Linked DNA regions of Homo sapiens: regions 1, 2, 3 and 4 are each linked to region 5. The links are contacts of gene promoters, found by promoter capture Hi-C in blood cells and fetal thymus (Javierre and others, 2016). All regions are on one chromosome and are shown on one strand. Each heading gives the region's core, a stretch centred on a gene start or on the middle of the fragment in contact. The rest is flanking DNA. Distances are from core to core; before and after follow the strand shown. Region 1 has its middle 65 kb from the start of LINC01738. Region 2 has its middle 30 kb from the start of LINC01738. Region 3 has its middle 12 kb from the start of LINC01738. Region 4 overlaps LINC01738 (long intergenic non-protein coding RNA 1738). Region 5 holds the start of FOXE3 (forkhead box E3).

What was found. The method cuts DNA at HindIII sites, captures the fragments that hold promoters and counts their contacts. A CHiCAGO score of 5 or more calls a contact.
Region 1: a fragment that was not itself captured here is called in contact with the fragment with the promoter of FOXE3 in region 5 in 3 of 17 cell types (erythroblasts, total CD8 T cells and activated CD4 T cells); the score reaches 5.7 in erythroblasts.
Region 2: a fragment that was not itself captured here is called in contact with the fragment with the promoter of FOXE3 in region 5 in 16 of 17 cell types (naive CD8 T cells, megakaryocytes, M0 macrophages and 13 more); the score reaches 16.0 in naive CD8 T cells.
Region 3: a contact is called between a fragment that was not itself captured here and the fragment with the promoter of FOXE3 in region 5, in 1 of 17 cell types (non-activated CD4 T cells). The highest score is 5.9, in non-activated CD4 T cells.
Region 4: a contact is called between a fragment that was not itself captured here and the fragment with the promoter of FOXE3 in region 5, in 16 of 17 cell types (M0 macrophages, naive CD8 T cells, total CD8 T cells and 13 more). The highest score is 12.9, in M0 macrophages.

Annotation. Positions count from the first base shown.
Region 1 is chr1:47,752,261-47,754,960 of GRCh38, forward strand. No RefSeq gene overlaps it. Among named protein-coding and RNA genes, the nearest start is that of LINC01738, 65 kb to the left of the region's middle. The HindIII fragment of the contact is 669 bases long and covers 1,050-1,718 here.
Region 2 is chr1:47,716,929-47,719,628 of GRCh38, forward strand. No RefSeq gene overlaps it. Among named protein-coding and RNA genes, the nearest start is that of LINC01738, 30 kb to the left of the region's middle. The HindIII fragment of the contact is 2,620 bases long and covers 63-2,682 here.
Region 3 is chr1:47,675,057-47,677,756 of GRCh38, forward strand. No RefSeq gene overlaps it. Among named protein-coding and RNA genes, the nearest start is that of LINC01738, 12 kb to the right of the region's middle. The HindIII fragment of the contact is 6,490 bases long and covers 1-2,700 here.
Region 4 is chr1:47,696,416-47,699,115 of GRCh38, forward strand. The region is part of intron 2 of LINC01738 (long intergenic non-protein coding RNA 1738); the gene reads left to right. Among named protein-coding and RNA genes, the nearest start is that of LINC01738, 9.3 kb to the left of the region's middle. The HindIII fragment of the contact is 3,165 bases long and covers 1-2,700 here.
Region 5 is chr1:47,414,998-47,417,697 of GRCh38, forward strand. FOXE3 (forkhead box E3) reads left to right here and starts at 1,288. Exons shown (of 1, transcript NM_012186.3): 1 at 1,288-2,700. The coding sequence starts at 1,319. The coding sequence ends at 2,278. All of the region lies in intron 1 of LINC01389 (long intergenic non-protein coding RNA 1389), which reads right to left. The HindIII fragment of the contact is 18,012 bases long and covers 1-2,700 here.

The DNA of each region.
Region 1 (2,700 bases), core at 134-2,633, 340 kb after region 5:
GGCCGTGAGCGTGCACGGCCAAGCATGGAGATTCAGGAGACCTTCAGCTGGGGCTTCGTGCCCGCTCCGGATCCGTCCGGCCTGTGTTTATTTCTCTTTCCTGCTCTGGCAGACGGGCCTGGGCCCGCTGGGAGAGTTGGCTCAGCCCTCCCTGGCTCCTGAATTCCCTAGCCCAGCTACCACCCCCTGCATTCCTTAGGAGCCTCAGTGTCCCAGAGAGACACGATTTTTTCCATCTTCTTGAATAAAAGACTTTTAGGGACAGTCATTGATCAAATCCAAAATCCACAGTCCGGGCTTCCAAGTCCTGCTCCAGACCCTCTACTTCTCTCAGTTCCATGTGCTCTAAGACCACACCCTCGCTAACATGCTTTGCCCAGCGCCTCCTCTAGCACGTCTCTCCATGCCCTCCTTCTCTGTCATTCATACAGCCACCAATGGTCTACGGCCCCCACCCCCCTCTTGAAAGTCCTGCTGGATGGCTCCGTCTTACCCAGCCTGTCCACGCTCCACACTGCCACAGCTGTCTTCCCTGCCTCCCCTTCTGAGTACCCCCTGAGCCCACTCTCTGTGCCCCGCCCACCACTAACTCTGGCTGCACCTTCGTGCCTCTGCCCGAATGTGTGTGGAACGCTCCTAACGTGGATTTGGAGCTTCTCTTCATGTCCTGGAGACCTTAAAGGGCCCCTTCGAAAGAGGATCAAGCTGCCAGGCTGGAAGCTGCTAAGGGCAGCAACTAGTTGTTGGGCTTTAGCATTTGATGCAAATTAATTTTTTAGAAGGGGTGGCTTTAAAATTTGGGAGTTTTATTAAGAGGTTAGAGGGTAGAGAAAGATCTTGGAATCCTAACCTATCAAACTTAGAAGGCTCTTCAAAGATCATCTGCTCTAATTGCTGCATTTTTTTGAATAGGGAAACTGAAGCTCAGTAAGGAGATGCCATTGGCCTAATGTTATTTATGAAGTCAGTGGCAAAGCAGGAATGGAACTCTCTTTGGGTCCTGAATTAGTCAAAATCTTCCACTCACAGCACCTGGGGTTCTTGAGCGAAGCTTGAAGCATTGTGGAAATTCAGGGGCACATGCTTCTTCCCTCTTTCAAGAACCATGATAACATGCATTGAAGTTGATTTTGCAGATATAAAGCACTTCAGGCCTGTTGTCTCAGGTCATCGCCATTATAGCTCTATAAAGTAAGTCATATTTATCTCCATTTCCCAGATAAGGCTAATAATACCAGGGTTAAGTGACATGCCCAAGGAAAAATAACCAGTAGGTAGCCAAAGAGGGTCTTGGGCTCAGGCCTGTTGCTATGTGCAATGTGTCACTCTACCTCCTATTCCTCGAAAGGTGCTCCACTCTTTTAGAAAATCATGCAGAAAAGGCTGCAGTAGAAAATAGAATAGCTCCAGGATCCAGGGACTGGTACAACAGCTCAGGACATTTCATTTCTCGTAGTGGAAAGAAACATCTAGAACAGGGGCTCTTTATCCTTTCAGACCCAGGATCCCATTTTATCACAAATACTTTAAAGTGTCCCTTCTGTACTGAAATGAAACTTATGAATAATATAACACACCTACACATATGATTTTTTAAAAATTAATTCAGTGCCCTAACTATAAGGAAAAAGAAATAGTAGCTTATAATAAAATAATATGTAATTTGGTTTGTCCACACTTGGGTACATCAACACTTGTAGACATAATGTAATAGTCAAAGCTTGTACCTAACTGTTGAGTCACCCTGAAAGTGACAGCTAAAATACCAAGGAGTACAGCTGTGTGTCTCTCTGACACCCGGAATACACAGGCATTGTTGTTAGTAAGGTGGCACTCAAAAATAGTGAACAACTCTTGGTAAAGTTCAGAACAAAATGAAGCACATTCTTCTCTCAATATACATGGCAATTACATTCCTGTAAGATTTAGTGCACATTAAACCTTTACAAACAAATACTACGTGTTTACGTAAAATGGATTCAGGTTCTAGGCTCAGATAATTACAAATGATTTTTTTTTCTCCCCTAATGAATGTTTGGCAAAACATGCAAAAATTTTGCAGGATGGGGGATAATTCTTTATGTGGGGCTCTTAGCAGGTCACTAAGTGTCGCTAGCCCTTGACCACAACTACCCCCGCACCACCCCGCCCCTGCAACAGCTGTATGAAAGCCAAAAACTCCCCGACGAATTCCCAAAGCATCCTATGGGTGTTGATACTACCCCTGCTGAAAAACACTAATTTGGAGATTTTCTCTGAGAAGCCAGGCATGAAAGAGGGAAGGCTCAGACCTCTATTGTACCTAGATGTTTGGATTTCTCTCAGTTTTGCTTTTGATGAACATAATTTAATACTAACCTTGGATGATGCTTAGTCTTCAGACTTAAAATTAATGCAATAAATGTTGACCACGTGTCCTCTATTTTAAAGACTATTCATCCAGGGGATGGAAAAATGAATATGACCTGGGCTCTGCATGCACGGCTTTCCCTTTATCATATTCTAAGGGTGATAAGCCATACGAAACCCATCATCTAAGACTGGATGCATACAAAGGCTGGGGCTTCAGGAGAGGTGGAAGTGTGAGCCCGGGGGACCAGAGCACGCTTCTACGAGGAAGCACAAATTAAGTGAGGCCTTGAATACCAGGAAAGAAGTTTTCAGGTGAAAATAGGGGGAATGAGCAGCTAGCTGTGGAAG
Region 2 (2,700 bases), core at 123-2,622, 300 kb after region 5:
GGGAAGTTATCCTGAAGTATCTGGTGGTCCCAGTGGAATCAGATGAGCCCTTAAAAGCAGCAAGCTTTCTTTAGCCAACAGCAGAAAAGGAAGTCAGAAGAAGGAGATCTTGGAGATATTTGAAGTATGAGAATAACTTGCTGCATCATTGCTGGCTTTGAAAATGGAGAGGACCATGTGAGAAGGAAAATGAATGGCCTTAAGGAGCTGATGGCTAGCAAGGAACCAGGGACTTCAGTCTACAACTGCAAAGAACTGGATTTTGCCAACATCCTGATTGAGCTTGGAAGGGCATTTTTCCCAGAGCCTTCCCATAAGACCCCAGATGGCTAACACCTTGATTTTAGCCTGTGAGACCCAGGGCAGAAGACTCACATAAGCCCACCCGGATTTCTGGGCTACACAATTATACCATAGTAAATAGGTACTGCTATAAGTTGCTAAATTTATGGTAATTTGTTTCATAGCAATAGAAAACTAATATGCCTAGCCTGTGTTCACTCTCTCAGAATTATCTTGATTTTTTTTTTTTCCTAATCAACCTAAGAGATGAATCATCACAGAATAGGGAAAGAATACAGTATTGAACACAAATACACCTGGGTTCCAATCCTGGCTCAGTCACCTACTAGCCATGTGACTTCAGCCAAGTTACATAACCCTTCTAGGAAGAGCTTTATTCATCAATAAAATATGAGGATGATAACTTTCCTGGTCAGTTTGCTTGGAAAATTAAATATAATGCACATTGCATGTCTGACACATAGTAGGGGCTTAAATGTTTCTTTTACTTGTTTGGGATAGCAATAAGCTAATATTAAGTAGTCAGTTTAAAGATGTTAGAGTAAGTGCAGTTATTTTTTTCACTACCATCATTAATAGTCGGACAATTTTAATAGCACATCACTGACTTGACCTAGAGGGAGAGCTACTAGTGGAATTGAGGCCATGCTGATGAAGAGGGGTACTTGGTAGAGTGCCCAACATCACAGATCTCTAAGCCTATGTCAGAGTCTGGGTCTTGGATTAGTCACTGGACACACTATGAGACCAGGAGGAAGGAAATAAGCGGTGAAAATGACCCAAAGTTAAATTGAGAAATACATGCTGTACTCTGGAAATGAAATCACCTGATCTCCCTTTCTGGACCCAGGGAGCAGGTGACCCCAGCCACGGCTTCTTCTTTCAGGAACTGCAAAGCAGGCAGGACTGAGCTCATACTGCCACATCCTGCTCAATCTAGGAGGGTATCAGGAACCAAGCCATTTCCCTTTCTTCTCCCCAAGTCTAAACTTTACAAGTTATCAGAGAGAGCATAGAACAAGCAATCTTGAGTGTGTGGAGAAGGAAGACCTATTGAACTTTTCAGAGCTCTTCGGGGTTCAGCATTTTGTCCCTCTCCTTTTCCTCCTATCCTCATAGCCCCACTCCTCATCTACATGGACCCTTGGGGCCGTTGGATTTGGTGGTATCCTGTAAAGGTCTCCAGGCTTGTCAGAAAGCCTAGGTTCTGGTCCGTGGTGTGCAGAGCTTGTTTGCACCCACTGGCCAGAGCTGACCGTAAGTGCCTCTATTCAACTGCACTATCAAGTGATCTCACTTCAGTTTGAAATCTGCCATGGTGAGAACACACCATAGAAACTGGCAAAGACTGCAAATCAGGCTTTCTCTTCTCTAGAGAGCTGGTGTTAAATTTACCAGTAGACTGATGCTTCTAGCCTTGGCGGCCTGGGAAGAGGCAGATTCCTGCCCTTTTCTGGGCCTCAGTTCCCTCTTTAGTCAGTGCCTTAGCTACCCTCTAAGGGCCTTTAAAAAAAGCTCATTAGATACCAAAGAAAAGAGAGAAAGTGTGGATAACAAAATTATTGCTTTCATGGTAATACTTTCACAATAAAAATAGGGTTCACAATAGTCACATTTAGAAAGAGCTCTCTCTTTGCTAAATACCATGCTATGTATGTCATCTAAGGCCCTCCCTTGCCTTACTTAACCCCCCCTCACACCTGATTCAATCAGCTAGTGAGGTACGCAGGGCTGAAGATTTTTCCCCACTTGGCTCTGAAATTTGAGTGTCTGCATATGATTCTGGGCTCCACCACTTTCTCAGTTAGTTTGACTAAGTTATTTAATTTCTTTGTCTCTTGTTTCCTAACATGTAAAATGGAACAATAATAAAAGTTTCTACTTCTTCAGGTTGTTATGAGTATTAAGTGAGAAAACCCATGTAAAATGCTTGGATTAGTGTCAGTCACACAGTAAGGGCTAAAGGAATGTTGAGAAATGTCTTAACATTGTCTATCCCTGCATCTGTGGAGCCCACACAGGCCTGTTCCATGGTAGATGCCTAATAAATGTTTGTATTGGAAAAGAAGGGAGGCCAATAGACAAAAATGACAGAGAGAAATATTTGTATTAATAACTAAATGAATCTTTCATGTTTACTCACCTCGGTCTTTCCCATTTACTTTCACCAACTTATCTCATGACCGCCCTCATAGATGTTCTACAAAGAGTTGGAAATTCATTTACGTAGTCACTCAACAAATATTAATTGAGCCCCTCTGGTGCCAGGTCCTGGCTAGATGCTGAGGCTACCATTGGGAATGAGCTCTGGGTTTAGCTGGCGTTAGAATCGTGGAGTCCTTGGTCTTCTGTTGGGCAGACAGGCTCTGAGGGGCCACAAGCTTTGTGCTTGCAGGT
Region 3 (2,700 bases), core at 67-2,566, 260 kb after region 5:
AAATCCATATCTGTCTGACTCTTAATTACCAATAATAATTATCAGGATCATCAATACCTTTTACTGAATAGTAACTGTGTAGGGCTTTACCTAGGTTAGTTCTTGTAGTCCACTTAATTCTTTCAACCACCACCTTTGTTCTCTGCAGTCAATGCAGTCAACACTTCTGGAAATAAAAAGGACATTCTCCTGCAGGAGGCAGCACTAGAAAGGTGGGGTGGGAACAAGTAGAGTGGCAGTCAGATGGCAAGGCAGGCTCAGTCTCCCTCACATGGTCTCAGCTCCTTGGGCTTCTGTGGATGGTCCACAGGGAGTCTCTGAGGCTCTCTTTGTCCCTGTCCTCCTGACTGCATGCCCACTGAAAAGTGTTGGTGGGCCTTTCTGGACGGCAGGTCTGAGCACCACCCATGGGAAGCACTGGCTCTCAGGCAGGGCTATCCAAGAGAGCCCCAGGAGGTGACAGCAGAGGTGCAGGACCCTGGCAGGGAGGCCGCGACTCCTGCCTCTCCTCCTCATACCACACCCACACCAATCTGTCTGCAAATCCTGTGCACTCTACCTTTGAAACATCTAGAACCTGACAGTTTCTTACCACCTCCACAGCTAGCACCCTGGTTGGTCCAAGTCACCACCATCTCTTGTCACACCTATGGCAGTCACCTCCTAAATAAAGTAAGTCGTTTCACATCACTCCTCTGCTCAAAGCCCTCGCTGATTCCTTATTTCACTCAGAGCCCGAACCAGCACCTACATGGGCCTGCGGGACCCGCAAGGCCTGGCCCCTCTTCCAGTCCTGCCCTCATCTCCCACTGGGCCTTGTGTCCCCTCCCCTCTGGCCCACTCTTCTTGCTCTCCATGGACGTGCCAGGCCCGTTTTCCCTAGCGTCCTCACAGCTCGCTCCTCCACACTCTCAAGGCCTCTCTGCTGGGTCTTCCCTGAACTGGGCTGGTGTGAGCACCCTGCTTAAAATCACCAGCCTCCTAGCACTCTCTCCTCCTCCCCTGCCGCTTGTATTCACAGCTCCCATTCCCGCCTGCCATGCCATACATTGCAAGCCTTTGTTTCTTATTCTCTTTCTCCTCTCACTAGGAAGCAAGCTCCGTGAGGGTACATTTCTTCCGTTGTGTTCACTGTGGTATCCCCAGCAACAGGAGGACTGCCTGGCACTTAGTAGAGGCTCAATAAATAGTTACTGAGTGGATTCCTGTCCTAGTGGAGGCTGGACTTCCTAGCTTTCAAACTGGAGTCTGATGCTATGAAAAACACAGTGGTCCTTGGCCTCAGAGAAAGTGGGATCCTTTCCTTTCTTCTCTTCCTCCCCATCAGCTCAGCCAGGATTCCTGATAGCTCCCGCTTCACCAGCCCTCCATCATCACCACCACTGCAGCCCCCCCACAAAAGGGCTCTTTCCTCCACCTCCCTGGGCTCCCCTCACAGCCACCCACACCAGGCCTTCGACACAGTCCCCCTCCCTTGGGGACCCAACGGACCTGTGCTCTCATCCCCTACCTGTACTTCTGAGGACTTGCTGCTATCCAGGAAGTGGGTGAGCAGGCAGGTTTGCGTGACAGGGCCTGAGATTTGAATGGCCCATACATTTGTTCTAAATGAAGGTGGAACCAACCCACGTCTTTCACTGGGGTCACAGAGATTTGGTTTTTTCACCTCAGTGTCCTGTGTGGACTGTGACAGCCTCCTCCACATTGGCCTCTCCGCCCACAGCTCTTCTTTTCTCTGTCTCCTGGCCTCTTCCTTCACTTCTTCCTAGGCCCTCACTCCCTGTCTGTCTCATCTTTCGGCTCTGTCTGGAGCTCTCCCTTGCTGTCTCTCCGGCCTTCTTGCTGCCTCTCCATGGCCCCAGCCCACGCCGCCGTCGCTTACTGCACGTGTTTACCGTCCCTTCTCCCTCCTTGCTCTGTCTTTCCCTGTCTCTGAGGCTCTCCATCACCATGTGCTTTTGTTCTTGGGCACTTCCTCTGTTCCTTCCCTGCCCAGACTCTGTCTCTGTGTCATTCTCAGTCTTTTTGACTTTTGAGCTCTCTGTGCCTGTGTCTACATCTCTGCCTCTCTTCCCCCCTCTCTGCATCCCTGTATCTCTGTTTCTGTGGCCACTCTGCAGCCTCTGAGACCAAGAGGGTCTGGTGTAGAAGGGGCAGAGAGCCAGGCCAGGCTTCCCTCCCAGCCCACGAGAGCTCTGTGGCCCTCTCAGAACCTTTATGAGGCCGTTCTGCCCGGCAGAATGTGCTTGGGCTGAGGCCTGGAGCTAAGGAAATCCATTTGTCATTTCTGATGGAAACGGCCCCTTCCCAGGAGGCCCCGGCCTCCCCGTCGCCTGCCGGTGAACTCTGTGAGCACCTGAGGGAGAGCTCCTTGCCGGGAAGAGGGTTCCACGCAGGAGCAGCTTTCCAAGGAAAACATCGCCCTTGACAGATCATGTGTCGGGAGAGAGTTGGTCCCACACACCATAAATTGCCAGCCTGACCTTCCCCCGCAGGGCCCCGCGGTTCCCGAGCTGAGGTTCTCCTGCTGGGCCAGGCTGGGTCAGCACCGCCGGACTCGACGCACAGAGAGGGAGGCCTGGGTGCAAGTGGAGCTCGAGGACGCCCAGCAGCCAGGCTAAGACGCCCCAGCCCAGGAGCCGCAGGGGAAACTGGAGCCACATTAAGGGGGCTCCCTGGGGCTTTGTAGTTTGCAAAGTA
Region 4 (2,700 bases), core at 63-2,562, 280 kb after region 5:
TATGGGACTTATATTAATAATTGCAAATGTCCAGGATGAAACAGTTCTAGGGCATACTTTTTCTGCAAAGGACCAGGTTGTAAATATTTTCCTTTGGCTTGGCAGGCCATAAGGTCTCTTGTCACATTACTCAACTCTGCTGTTGTAGCCATATCTAAACAAATGGGTTCCAATAAAACTTTATTTACAAAAGCAGGTGGCAGGTGGATTTGGCCCTTGTGTTATAGTTTGCTGATCCCTGTTCTTGATGCATTGTCTGCTCTGCTGAGCGCCTTGGTGGGGGCTCCCTTCAGGACTGAGCCCCAGAGGAGCCCAGCTGTGCCCCTCATTTGGAGATGCAGAGGGGTCTGCGGGGGCCAGGCTGGCTCCCAGGGTGCGGGTGCCTCTGAGTGTGGCTCTCCCTTTCTGTCCTAAAGAGGCTGTTGAAAAGGCTCCTCTCTCCAGCAGTGGCGCCTCATTACTCATGGTTGGAAAACAATGTTAATTTCCCCCAAGCGGGAAGCAGCTGCACTTGTGAGCCAGGGCTCATTTTGCTGCATGAATATTTATGGCATGTCCCCTAATTAAGCTCAGAAATAAAATTTATCCTGCTAACAGGGTCCACAGAAGACTGGAAGGCCATGTCAGGAACCAGCCTCTTATGCCTGTGAAGTAGGTTTGTCAATGAAACATTTGTTTCCAGAGCCACTTGGCCAGGGACAGTGTCCACAGTAGCATTTCCTGGAAGGTCAAGCACCCTTTGTGTAGTCACATGCTTGTGCAAGGGGACACCTACACTACCTTGCTGAGCAGTGATGGATGGCTATTGTCCCAGGCCTGCATGTGGTGACACAGAGGTGACTCTAGGCCAGAGCCCTTAGCAATACTTCTTTTCTTTTAGCCAGTGTGACTCAGGTATTTTCTGATTGGGTGTCAAAGGCCACTCCAGTATAAATAGCCCAGTGAGAAAGCGCCCTGGAGTGGGAACCAGGAAAGATGGGTTTGAGTTGCTCCCCTGACACTGATTCTAGCTGACCAGGGGCCGGCCTGCCTGCTCTCCCAGCCTCAGGCCCCCATTTCGTTAAAATGATGGCGGACTGTCAACATCATGTAGTTACTGGGAATCATGGGAGACCATGGAAGATAAAGTCTTTTGGGGAATGATTCTCACCATGATTTGGAATTTCCTTTACCTCCAGGCCCTCCCTCCCTTAAATCCCCAGAACCAAGGAAAGCCTAGGCCTAGGCCAGTAACCTTGAGGGCTTCCGGAAACCATAAATCTTGGCCTTTCCTTGAGGGGTCCTATCTCCAGAGAACTGCCTGGGCCCTCATATCCTCTTCCACAAAGCCAATAAACCAAGCAAACACCATAAAGCTCCTCACCCCACCTGAGCTTTCCCCCACGGTCAGAGTCGGACCTGGTCAAGAGTCATGAGTTTCAGAACATGGCTATAAAATTGCACGTGGCTCCTCCCCATTTCCTTTCCAGAATGGAACTTACCTTTGCTTTCTCTCTTCCATCCTCTTTTTGATAAGTTTCCTCTTTAATTTCTTTCCAGCACCTGAGAGATCCCATCTTGCGTTCCCAGCCTCACCTCCCAGTTGCTGGTGGGGGCTTGGAGAGGAGGATGCTTTCCTAAGGCAGGTCCGGGGGTGTAATCAACCAGGGGCCTTGGCAACTGGCACACCTTGTAAATTCAAAAGTCAACAAGATGTGGAAGCAAAGGAGACCCTGGGGCTGGAGAGGAGGAAGTGGGGAGGTGAGGGTGGGCCTTATCTTGTGAAGTCGGTCAGGGGTGGCTTCTGTGCCCTCTGCCTCCCCTGGTGGGGCCTGCCCCACCCCCTGGAGCCTGGAACTTCCTGCTCTCATTCTTCACCTTCACATCCTGAGCTCAGAACTGATCACAGCTACAGCCTGGACCCTGGAAGGGGCCCTAGAGGCTTTCTCTCCCACACCCTCTCACTACAGATAGGGAGGCTGAAAAAACTGGGAGGGCCTTGCCCTAGGTCAGTGTCAGAGTGGAAATAACACTGGGCTGGGGCCAGGAGACCGGGTCTCTGGTTCTTGCCTGGGCTGAGTCCAGACCTCAGTTGCAGACTGTAGCCTTACCTCTAACCCCTAGGTTACCATGAGATGGGAGGAAAGATCACAGCTTCTTAGGGCCCATCTCAACCACAGAACCATATGAACCACTTAATGGCTATTTGCATCCGGGACACACTCTTCACTGAAAAAGGATGCCATGATCTTACCAATTTGGAAGTTTGGTGCAGTGGGCTTATTAGAGCACTGTAGCAGAGGTGTGACATTCACAAAAGTCACTTTAACCTCTCTGGACTTGAGCTTCCTCATCTGTAAAATGAGGATAATAATCCCCCTCGCCCCCCTCCACCCACTGCCAACTATCCCCTCAGCTTCTGATGAGGGTCAAAGGAGATACTGATTCAGTCTTTTGTTAGATGAATGTGTTTACATGTGAAAGAATAAATATTAAAATTATACCTATTGTTTTGTTATTATTTGGTGTTTACTCTCCTTCCTGGCTAGCCAGAAAGAGCTGGTGTTTTTTGAAGACCTAAGCCCGGGAGCAAATTTTTCCTGGTCAAAGAGGCCAAGAGTGGGCCCAGGATCTCTGCCAGGACCTGCCAGGGCCCAGAAGATTTGGGGAGGGGAGCTGCAGCATTAGAGGGCTGAGACCCCTTTATCCTTGATTAGGTCC
Region 5 (2,700 bases), core at 38-2,537:
GGACTAGGATGGGGCAAGTGAGATGCCCCAAATGTAAGGAGGCCCTGGCTCTCAAGTGCTGACTGCACTTGCAAGGCCCTGAGACTGAGCTCCCCTTAAACTCAGCACCTCAGGCACCTCAGTGGGCTCACTGTCCTTCCAGCCCTGCTCCATGTCCAAGTCCCTTGATCTGCCTGTCCCCAGGACAACCCACTTTAAGACAAGGCTCCTTCACCCTGTAGTTCCCTTGGAGCTGGGGATGGGTCTCCTGTCTCTTGGGAGAAGAAGTTTCCCAAAATAGGCTGGGTGCTGCATCCCCCTGGATGCCAGTTGTGGGTGGAACTTCTCAGACTGAGTTTTTAACAAACACTGCCAAAGACCCCCCATCCCCAGTGAGATGTGAGTGTGGTGTTTCTGGGTCAGAAGGCGGCTTTTTCAGACCCCCAGTCTGTGGAAGCCTACATTTTGTACTGTGTGTGTGGGTGTATGTGTGTGTGTGTGTATGTGAAGAAAAGCTGTTTTCTTTAACAGGGGGGTGTGGAGAGGAGGCAGCCAGAAAGGCAGCTCCAAGTTGTGGATTTCCTGGGGGCTCTTCATTTAAAGCGGCCGCACCACTTTCCACAATTCTGTTTTTTCAGAGAATGCTCTCAAGGCCTGGAGGGAGGGCATGACAGGGGTATGGGGGAGGGGGGTGGCAGAGAGGCAAGATGGTGACCCTGATCTGGAGCAGTCAAACATTCTCCCAGAGACAAAACCGGCCTGGCTCTGCCCTGCCCCGCTGCTTCATTACCTTGGCCCAGGTTCCCTAATGTCTGTGAGTGGGCCTGACACCTCCCCATCAGGATACTGAGGGCTGGCAAGGCGGCCTTCATCTCTGTTCCAGCTGGGGATGGAAGGCCAGGAGAAGGATGGGGGGACCGACTACTGGGAGGAGCAAAATGGGGAGGAGCAAAATGGGGAGGGGGCTGGGAGAGTGAATGGGTGGATTTGTGATTGGGAATGATCCAAAGGAGAGGGGGTAGAAGGAGGGGTGGAAAGGGAAGGGGACTGACCAAATACAGTGGGATGGGGCCAGGGGCTGATATAACCGAGATGGGGAAGGGGTGAGTCTGGGTCTGGGAAAAACTGATCCAAAGGCAGAAAGGGAGGGGCGAAATGGAGGAGGGTACCGTGAACAGAGTAAGGGGGCTGGGAGAGGAAATTAGAGGGGAGGCGCTGGCCAGCAGGCAAGGCCTGAGCCCTCTCCCCCGGCGGTGGTTGGGGGGGGGCCGTGTCCATATAAAGCGGGTCGGCGGCCCCTGCGGTCCCGGAGCCGCGCGGGCAGGGGCTGCCGCAGCCGATGGCGGGGCGCAGCGACATGGATCCGCCCGCCGCGTTCTCTGGCTTCCCTGCCCTGCCAGCGGTCGCGCCGTCGGGGCCGCCGCCGTCGCCGCTCGCAGGAGCCGAGCCAGGGCGGGAGCCAGAGGAGGCGGCGGCTGGCCGCGGAGAGGCGGCCCCCACGCCCGCGCCCGGCCCGGGGCGGCGGCGGCGGCGGCCCCTGCAGCGCGGGAAGCCGCCCTACTCGTACATCGCGCTCATCGCCATGGCTCTGGCGCACGCCCCGGGCCGCCGCCTCACGCTGGCCGCCATCTACCGCTTCATCACCGAACGCTTTGCCTTCTACCGCGACAGCCCGCGCAAGTGGCAGAACAGCATCCGCCACAATCTCACGCTCAACGACTGCTTCGTCAAGGTGCCCCGCGAGCCGGGCAACCCGGGCAAGGGCAACTACTGGACGCTGGACCCCGCGGCCGCAGACATGTTCGACAACGGCAGCTTCCTGCGGCGCCGCAAGCGCTTCAAGCGCGCCGAGCTGCCCGCGCACGCGGCCGCGGCGCCAGGGCCGCCGCTCCCCTTCCCCTACGCGCCCTACGCGCCCGCGCCCGGCCCCGCGCTGCTGGTGCCGCCGCCTTCTGCCGGACCGGGCCCCTCGCCGCCCGCGCGTCTGTTCAGCGTCGACAGCCTGGTGAACCTGCAGCCGGAGCTAGCGGGGCTGGGCGCCCCCGAGCCGCCCTGCTGCGCCGCGCCCGACGCCGCAGCCGCAGCCTTCCCGCCCTGCGCTGCCGCCGCCTCCCCGCCACTCTACTCGCAGGTCCCCGACCGCCTGGTACTGCCCGCGACGCGCCCCGGCCCCGGCCCGCTGCCCGCTGAGCCCCTCCTGGCCTTGGCCGGGCCGGCAGCCGCTCTCGGCCCGCTCAGCCCTGGGGAGGCCTACCTGAGGCAGCCGGGCTTCGCGTCGGGGCTGGAGCGCTACCTGTGAGCCTGCGCCGCGCGGGCAGGCACCTGTGCGACCTGTGCCCCGGACCTGCGGCGCCGCCCTCGAGCGCCCCATCTCTACCCCCCACCCTGGCTTGGAGCACACCCTGCGCCTCTCGTCGTGGCCTCCTGGACTCAAACTCCTGCTACATCCTTCTCCGTCCCCCATCCCTGGGGAGGCTCCCACCATCTCGCCACTGGACAGAAGCGTCCCCTTTGACCTGCCAGCCTCTCATTTCTTCTCCCTCCACTTGTGAGCGCCCCCAGCTTTGCGGCGCCCCCCACCCCAGCGCTGTCTGTGGGTCCCTTGCCCCGGAGCTGACTCGCCTCCAGTGAGTCCATACCCCAGGTTTCCTGGTGAGTTCCAAGCCTTTGGAAGCCAGATCTGTGATCCCAAGCCGCCTCCTCCACCGACTGTACTTCATC